Regions from separate parts of the Homo sapiens genome. Here all the other regions are linked to region 3. Evidence: promoter capture Hi-C in 16 types of primary human blood cells and fetal thymus (Javierre and others, 2016). All regions are on one chromosome and are shown on one strand. Each heading gives the region's core, a stretch centred on a gene start or on the middle of the fragment in contact. The rest is flanking DNA. Distances are from core to core; before and after follow the strand shown.

What was found. The method cuts DNA at HindIII sites, captures the fragments that hold promoters and counts their contacts. A CHiCAGO score of 5 or more calls a contact.
Region 1: a fragment that was not itself captured here is called in contact with the fragment with the promoter of PLEKHM3 in region 3 in 1 of 17 cell types (erythroblasts); the score reaches 5.7 in erythroblasts.
Region 2: a contact is called between the fragment with the promoter of PIKFYVE here and the fragment with the promoter of PLEKHM3 in region 3, in 5 of 17 cell types (total CD4 T cells, total CD8 T cells, fetal thymus and 2 more). The highest score is 7.8, in total CD4 T cells.

What each region holds. Positions count from the first base shown.
Region 1 is chr2:207,778,910-207,781,685 of GRCh38, forward strand. No RefSeq gene overlaps it. Among named protein-coding and RNA genes, the nearest start is that of FZD5, 10 kb to the left of the region's middle. The HindIII fragment of the contact is 410 bases long and covers 1,172-1,581 here.
Region 2 is chr2:208,264,972-208,267,701 of GRCh38, forward strand. It overlaps PIKFYVE (phosphoinositide kinase, FYVE-type zinc finger containing), which reads left to right and starts at 1,284. Exons shown (of 42, transcript NM_015040.4): 1 at 1,284-1,444. RefSeq lists an enhancer at 1,121-1,170 and a silencer at 1,301-1,570. The HindIII fragment of the contact is 8,601 bases long and covers 1-2,730 here.
Region 3 is chr2:208,024,125-208,027,198 of GRCh38, forward strand. PLEKHM3 (pleckstrin homology domain containing M3) reads right to left here and starts at 1,403. Exons shown (of 8, transcript NM_001080475.3): 1 at 1,265-1,403. The HindIII fragment of the contact is 3,995 bases long and covers 1-2,357 here.

The DNA.
Region 1 (2,776 bases), core at 127-2,626, 250 kb before region 3:
ACAAGAGAGAAAAAACAAGAGTGTTGGGTGATACCCACAAAGAAAACAGAGCCTTAACCTTCCCCAGGCTTCATGCTACAAACACTGTTGATTACTGCCCGAGTCATCTCTCCTTTCAGTTTCCTAACAGAACCCCAGTTGGTTTTTTTGTGTTTTGATTTGTAGGCATCTACCCTTCTTTTCACCGCCATGTGCTTCAGTGGAGGCAGGAACTCCAGTCCAAGCCCAAAGACATAATACACAGTTGGTCCAGTTGACCATGTTGCTCCCTCCTGCCCCTCTTTTTTTTCCATTTCTTTTTCTTTTTCTTTTTCTTTTTTTGAGACGGAGTCTCGCTCTGTCCCCAGGCTGGAGTGCAGTGGCATGACCTCAGCTCACTGCAAGCTCCGCCTCCCGGGTTCACACCATTCTCCCGCCTCAGCCTCCTGAGTAGCTGGGACTACAGGCCACCACGCCAGGCTAATTTTTTGTATTTTTAGTAGAGACAGGGTTTCACCGTGTTAGCCAGAATGGTCTCGATCTCCTGATCTCGTGATCCACCTGCCTCAGCCTCCCAAAGTGCTGGGATTACAGGCGTGAGCCACCATGCCCGGCCTTTTTTTTTTTTTTTTTTTTTTCCATTTTTTCTTTTTCTTTTTTTCTTTGCGACGGGGTCTCAATCTGTCTCTCAGGCTGGAGTGCAGTGGCACGACCACGGCTCACTGTAGCCTCAACCTCCCAGGCTCAAGCAATCCTCCCACCCCAGCCTCCTGAGTAGATGGAACTACAGGCATGCGCCACCACGCCCGGCTAATGTTTGTTTTCTTTGTAGAGACGGGGTCATCCCAGGCCAGGTGTCAGGCACATGACTAAAGAAGCTCCCTGATGATTCTACCCCCAGCCTCAAGCCACTCCCTGTCGTTCAAGTCTTCCCATCTGAGGCCCCAGATAGCATGGGGCAGAGACTAGCCATCCCCACTGTGCCCTCTCCCGCTTCCTGATTTGCAGCATCCGTGAGCATAATTAAATGGCTCTTGTTTTACACCACTAATTTGGAGTGGTTTGTTACACAGTAGTGGTAACTGGAATGCCCAAATACCCCCAAACCCACCGTCCCTTGACATCTTAGATAATCAGGTAGACAACTTTTTTCTTTTTGCCTGACCCAGTTGGTGATCAACTTATACACTGAAGCTTGAGAACTTTCATCCGCTGTACTTTTATCCTATTGAGCCTCACTGTTGATGATATGCATGTGAAATGTCTAATCCTTTAAAACACAAATCTTCACCATTGATCTTAATATCCTGCTGCAGTGAGTTCCCCAGGTCAATTGTGTGTAGTGGGGGAAAAAAGTACCTTCTTTTATCCATTTAAACATGCTTCCTTTTTATCTCATCTTGTCCTCTTGTTCTTCCCCAAGTAAAGCGATTTCCATTCTGTGGGTACCTACACACAGAGACCTAAGTTGAGACAATAATTTTCCTTTGAGCTGGTCACCCAGAAGGCCTCGTGCGCACCGGGACATGGAGCAGTGGATTTTAGTTGGTGACTTAAAGGTGGTGGAACACTCCATTCTAATTAGTCACAGATTTAGTTCCAAGCTTTAAAAAAAAAATAGTCTCTGCAAGAGACTAATTCTGCAAGAGGCAGGCCAGGCATGGTGGCTCATGCCTGTAATCTCAGCATTTTGGGAGGCCAAGGCGGATGGATCACCTGAGGTCGGGAGTTCGAGACCAGGGAACTTCTTTTGAGACAGGGTCTCACTCTGTCACCCAGGCTGGAGTGCAGTGGCGCATTCTCTGCTCACTGACACCTCCACTTCTCAGGTTTAAGCAATTCTCCTGCCTCAGCCTCCTAAGTAGCTAGGATTACAGGTGCCTGCCACCACACCCAGCTAATTTCTGGTACTATGTTCACTCTCTGCATGATGGGATAATTCATACACCAAACCTCAGTGACACACAATTTACCCATGTAACAAACCTGCACACATACCCCACGAACCTAAAAGTTTTTTTAAAAACCCCAAAGCCCACACACCAACATATTTAAAATACAACAACTTTTCTCAGATTCACCTCTTAGTGAAAGAAAATCTGCCATCCTGAGGGTTGCCAAAATCATATTTGCAGATGGCAATAAAAGATTTATGGAGTGCTTTCTATGTACCAAGCCCCTAGCTAAATGCTTCATGCATTATCTCATTCAATCCTCACAACACCCAGTAATAATAGGTTATTTTATTTTCCCGATTTTACAGATGAGGAAACCTAGGCATAAAGAGATTGAGTAGCTCGCCTAGGGCCACTCAGTGTGTAATTGGCAATGCTTCACTTGCAGGGATTCCTCTTGCTGTAACTCTATTGTGGTTTTATTTTAAATATCTGTGCCATCTTACCTCTGCTATTAAATACTTGGGCAAAGATTAATGCCACATCGATTTCATTCTTTCGATATACAGTGTAATGAGCGGGGATAATGGTGGGAAAAATCACAGTCACCTATGTATGCTGGAATGGATCTTGATGATCCTGTGGTTTTTACCTCCTCATTTTACAGATGAAGAAATGGGTCAAAGAAGATTTTGGATAAACTTAAACTGAATGAGAGAAAATTAGAGAGTCCAAATACTCCTGGGGAAACTCCAGGTAACGCTTCCCTGGGCAAGTAGGGGCTTTGACTTATCTGTTCTCGCCCTCAGATGTGCAAGTCTGCAGCCTTTGTAAATATAACTTTGTGGCCAGTAATGTTACTACTATTATTTGGTTTAACATTCGTCACAAGTGAATATTAT
Region 2 (2,730 bases), core at 34-2,533, 240 kb after region 3:
GAGGCAGAGTCATTGGAAAAGGGGAGGTTGCAGATACGGTGCAAGCTCCCAGACAGGAGAGGGTGAATTGGGGGCCAAAAGGATTGAGCTGGGGAAGAAGAGGCCCCTTCCTCAGAGAGATGAGGGAGAAAGGCAGACCAGGGCAGATGTGGATGTAGGTAAATGTTGTGGTGTGTGGGGAATTAGCTTGTTAAGGGTCACGCCCAGATACCTTGGGATTTTTCACGTGGGTATAAAATATGATTCTCTGATGAGAATGATGGTCAAGGTAATGTGGGGGTCGTGGTGGTGGTCTGACGCAGCAGTAATAAGGAATGGGAGAAGCTGACTACAGACTCCCAGAAAGATTGCTGAAGGGCCCAGCTGAGGATGGTGACTGGGATTTGCACTGGACTCAACCTGCAGGTTTCGATGGTGCTTTCCAACTCCAGGAAAACTGGGCTGGGATTTGACAAAACTCTTGAGGAAAAGGACTCACAGAATTTAAAACTGCATTTCCCTTTAGGTTTCGTCTGCTTTCCATCCTCCCCTACCAAGCCCCACAACTGCGGCGAGCATGTTTTCTGCAGTTAACTGCACTGCGCTCTCAGCAGGACAGAAATGACGAATAACTCTAGCCAAGCTGAACAAGATAGGGCTTGGGCTTGGTAACTTTATTTGCATCAGCATTTGCAACACAACACCTAAATGAAAAAATTAACTATAAAGCCGACATCACTTACTCTGGGTCAGGGAACTGTGCCATTCGCTTTAAGTGCATTTACTTAATCTCAAAAAAGTATTAAGAAGTGAGTCCTTTTATTAATCCGACTTTACACACCAGAGGTCTAAGGCCTAAATAAATGAGCAATTTGCTTAAGATCATATGGCTGGTTATTGGTGGAGTCATGCAAGTCTGGAAACAGAGTCATCGCTAACTCCGGTTCAGTGCTACACGAGTGAACTGTCTACAACAAAGCAATAACATATTATGAGTGCCCACAGTATCGAACACATACGGTAACCGCAGTCCAGCCAGCACCCCTGCAGTGCCCAGAGCACCAAGCACCCATCCGTTGACCCCGCATGCGTGACGCTCACGCGCGCAGTCCCCCTGGCTTCTTCCAGGAAGGCTGAAGCGGCCTAATCTCGGCCAAAAGATCAGGACGACTCGATCTGGGCTGGACTCCTTCTGCCTGAGCATCTGATCCGAGCGTCGGCCGGGCTGGGAGGAGCCGGCCCCCGGGAAAGATTTCGGACTGGGGGACAGGAAAACAGAGGGCGGAGTCTTGGGGGGGGGAAGCGAGAAGCCGCATCAACCATGTAAGCAGCTTCGCTTCCTGCCGCAACCGTCCGCGGCCTGAGGAGCCCACCGCCGCTCTCGGGGGCCGACTTCCGGGGGCTGAGCCGTTGAAGCGGAGGCTGGGGCGGGGGGCAGCCGGCGCGGCCGGGGCAGGAGGCGCAGGTAAGGGAGGGGGCCTGGAGCTTGGCCGGCTGGGGCTCAGCATGGGAAGGAGGCCGGTATGGGGAGCTCCAGGGCCAGAGCTGAGGTGAAAGTGAGAACCAGGGCTCCGCAGTCGGGGGCTAGGGCCTGGCTGCCGGCTGAGCAAGGAAGGGCAGAGAATCTGGCTTTAGAATTAGCTTGTCCTCCCTATTCCCCGGCTGCCTTGTCTGGCGAGTGGGGACGGAAGCCGGGTGGGGCCCTTGAGATTTCCTTGGAAACATTTGAAGTTCCTTTGCCTCTCTCTCGACCCTTACGCCTGAACTTAATTAGGAGGGGAAGAGTACAGTTACTTTTCCCTCTGAGTGCATGAGTTCTGAGTTTGTCAGAGGCGCATCCGTAGGCTGGAAAAGAAAGTTCATGAGCTGCAGAAACGATACCAACCGTGGGGGTTCAAATAAGTGTTTGTCTTTTTAAATGCTTGCCTCTGCTATTTGAGACGATTCCATTTCAACTTAGGTTTTGGAGTTTCTTGAGGAGGAGCATTATTTCCCAATTAGTGTTTACCCTTTGCTTAGAATGTTCCCAACAAAAGGATGAGAATGGAATGTGTTGGAAACTTTTAGGACTTAGGGGTTTTCTGCCCAATCAGAGGTTATTCCTAAGACAGTCAAGAAATATAAGAAGTGCTAGAATTCTGTATAAAGCAAGTTATTCGTGTGTATCTGATGTGTATACATGATTCATTATCTACTATTGACGCAGTGCATCCTGTGTTGTAAAATATGTCCAGTGTTGACAATAGAGGTAGTCGCTTGGTATAATGTACTTATTTCTGATTTATTTGAGCCCCTTTTTTGGCACTCCAAAACTCCCACTCTGTCAGTTTTCTTACAAAAAATGTTCTTTCTTTTGTGTTTGTGACAAAGATTGTGTAGGTTAAATCTCTTCTGTGGAGCAAGGCTAATTTCCTGTGTTCTCCCTTTTTCTGCTTTCTGGATCCTGCTCTGGTTTTCCTTTAAGCGTGTTGGTCAAAAATTGAACAAGAAATCTTTGTTGATAGAAGCTAACATTTCCAATATTCAGCTTTCCTAAATTATTACATTGCCAGTTTTTTTTTTTTTTTTTTTTGAGAGACAGAGTCTCGCTCTGTCCCCCAGGTTGGAGTGCAGTGGCGCGATCTCCTCCGACTGCAACCTCCGCCTCCCAGGGTTCAGGCGATTCTCCTGCCTCAGCCTCCTGAGTAGCTAGATTGCAGGCGCGCGACACCACACTCGGCTAATTTTTGTATTTTTAGGGGAGACGGGGTT
Region 3 (3,074 bases), core at 153-2,652:
AGAGTAAGACCCTGTCTCAAAATAAAATAAAATAAAATAAAATAAAATAAAATAAAATAACAATAATAAAAACCCTAATGAGGTCAATACTATTATTATTCCCATTCTACAGATTAGGAAACAGAAGCGCTAAGTAAACTGCCCAAGATTACACAACTAGGAAGTGACCAAGCAGGAATTCAAACTGAAGTAGTCTGGCTTTATAGTTTTTGCTATAAACCATGACATTGTAAAAATATTCATTGTAAAGAAAAACTCATCAGGAATTAGTATCATTTCTTCTATGTATATCTATCTATTGTAGGTGCAATTTAACCTAATATTCATCTCCTGTCTAAAAGACTATGTGACCAAGGTTACAAATGTCTACTGATATTTTTAGAGACTAGATATATAGCCCAGCTTTTGTTAAGGCATTTTCTTGAAGTCAGTCAGTCAAAAACTGCCTTGTATTTTAAGTATGCCAATTATAATTTACATGTAGTATTTTATAATAAAATACTTTATAAATACAAATCACAACTCACTACGATTACTTAAAATATAGAGAAAAAAATTCAGCTGTTTCTCTCTGGTCCCTTCCAAGGAAGAAAAAAGAAGAGAGAAATAAACTTCTAAATAAGTTTACAACAGCATGGCTCAATCTCAGTTTAACCTGGTAAATTCAAATTTGTCTTGCTTTGCAAGGTATACATCCAGACCAGTCTCAATTTGTCATCCAAATATATATCTCAGTAGTAATTTATTTTTGTTTAAGGGATGAGTGTGAGATTTTCTTATCTTGATTTTTTAGCTTAATAATTCTTTCCTACAAGACCAAACCATGCTTGTCATCAGTCATGTGGTGTCATTTACTATACATTAAAAACGGACAGAGTCGACAGAAAGAACAATCGTTTTCTGGAAGCCCCAGCCTGATGTAGGTTAAAAGCTCTGCTGGGGTTTGGTTTTATAATCCCCAGGCGGGGATGGCAGGGATACTAATAACGCACTCAACAAGATCACCTACTATTTCAACTACTTTCTCCTCCTATTACATACCTGATTCACAAAAATAAGCAGACAATGCATCATGTAATCTCCCCTCACCCATTAGCCATTGCAGTGTGGTACAATCTCCAGCACGTAATAAAAACCTGAGCATGCAAGAAACAGCAAAATCACTGCTATCCCTGGGAGCTGCTCGGATATTTACAATGCAGTCGTCCCCACCCCATCCCCCAAACTGGCCGGCCAGGCAGCACAGAAGCAGACGGATGCTCACCTGGGCCCCGGCTGCTACTCTCCATTCACCTGCGGGGCCTTCAGTCCGCTCCTGGAGGGGCTTGACTCCCGCAGCCTGCCGCCCGCCTCACGGTGACAGCCCGCCCGGGCGCTGACCATCCCGGCCCGGCTCTGTTTACAAGCGGCTTCTCGCGGTCCCACTCTGAAATGCTTCCGCCGGCGGCCCGGGCAGCCAGAGCCGGACACACAAGGTTCCAGGCCGCGAGGACGAGTCTTTCCTGCCCGAGGGACCCGGCAGCTAGGCAAGGCCTGACCGCACCCGCCAGGCCTCCTTATTTCTTTGCTTTCTTATATACAGTTCCTCTTGTACACATTGTGAAAGCAATGGCGTGTGTCGTGGAGTCTCCTCACTGCTCCACCCAACGCCAAAATGGGTGTTTGCGATTGGAAAATGTCACTTAGAACATGTCAGGATCGGGCTGGTTTTTAGCAGCTCCCTTGTCTAAGGGAATTAATTACTCAAATAAGTTCTTTCCAAAAGTGGGACTATTCTGGAGATTGCTTCTCATTTCCGGTTTTGGGGCTGCAGTGAAAATCCGTTTTCACTGTCCTTTCCTACGCAGGTTGAAAAGGGGTGGTTTTGAGGTGAGGTCTTCACCCCCACTTGCGGATTCCCAGCAAAATAGGGTGTGCGTGTGTGTGCACGCGGGCAGGACTGCCTGGTAAGACCGCCCACATCCCACCTGCAGTGACTGTGGTCGCTTTGCAGGGATATGCTGGTCTGATTGGACAGACCTTCCTTGCAGTTTCCTGTCTGTTTTCCATCATAGCACACTTCTTAGCCATTTTCTCACTTTATAAGTACACACTTATTTATCAGTTTTATTGGTTTTCCCACGCTCACCCATCTCACCTATAAACTCCCTGAGGGCAGGCACTATTTCAGTTTCACTCACCACCATCTAGTAGGCACCTAGCACAGGCCCAATGTATATATATCTGAATAAATGAATGAACAAAGGAATGATAAAAAAAAAAAAAGGTCAAAGGGGTCAGGGATGAAACAGAAATCTAAAACTCTGATTCCTCTTCCCACCTTCCCACCCTCCAGAAGATTAATAAGCAAATCTTTAAGCTTTGAGTTAAGAAAAAATTTCCTTTGGTTGATATTCAAAGTTTAAATAAGCTTTCTTTAAACCCTGCAATTTGAGGTACTTTTTTTTCTGTTTTGCTAGAGACAGGATCTCACTCTGTGCCCCGGCCAGAGTGCAGTCGCACGATCATAGCTCACTGCAGCCCTGAACTCCTGGGTTCAAGGGATCCCCCCAACTCAGCCTCCTGAGTAGCTAGGACTACAGGCACGCATCACCACAACGTGGCTAACTTCTTTTTTCTTTCTTTCTCTTTTTTTTTTTTTTGTAAAGGCAAGGTCTCCCTGTGTTGCCCAGGATGATCCTGAACTCCTGGCCTCAGGCAATCCTTCTTCCTTGCCTTCCAAAGTGCTGGGATTACAGGTGTGAGCCACCTCACCTGGCCAGAGGTACATTTTTTGTTTTGTTTTGTTTTAATTACCAAAAGAGAATATTTGCAGTATTCTCTTTTGCCTCAGGACTTTGTACATGTGATTCCCTCTGATGAGAGTTCTCACTCCTGGCCCATCCTCTTACTTAGGCTGGCTAATTTCTCTTTGCTCTTTAAGAAGCAGGTAACAGGTGCTTGGTCTCTCAAGTCACTTGCTTGGTCTTCTTCCAAGTGTTCTTTTCTTCTTTTCCTTCCCTTCATTACTACTCTAAAGCTTTTTAATAAACTTTCACTCTAAAAAAAAAAAAAAAAAAGGCCGGGTGTGGTAG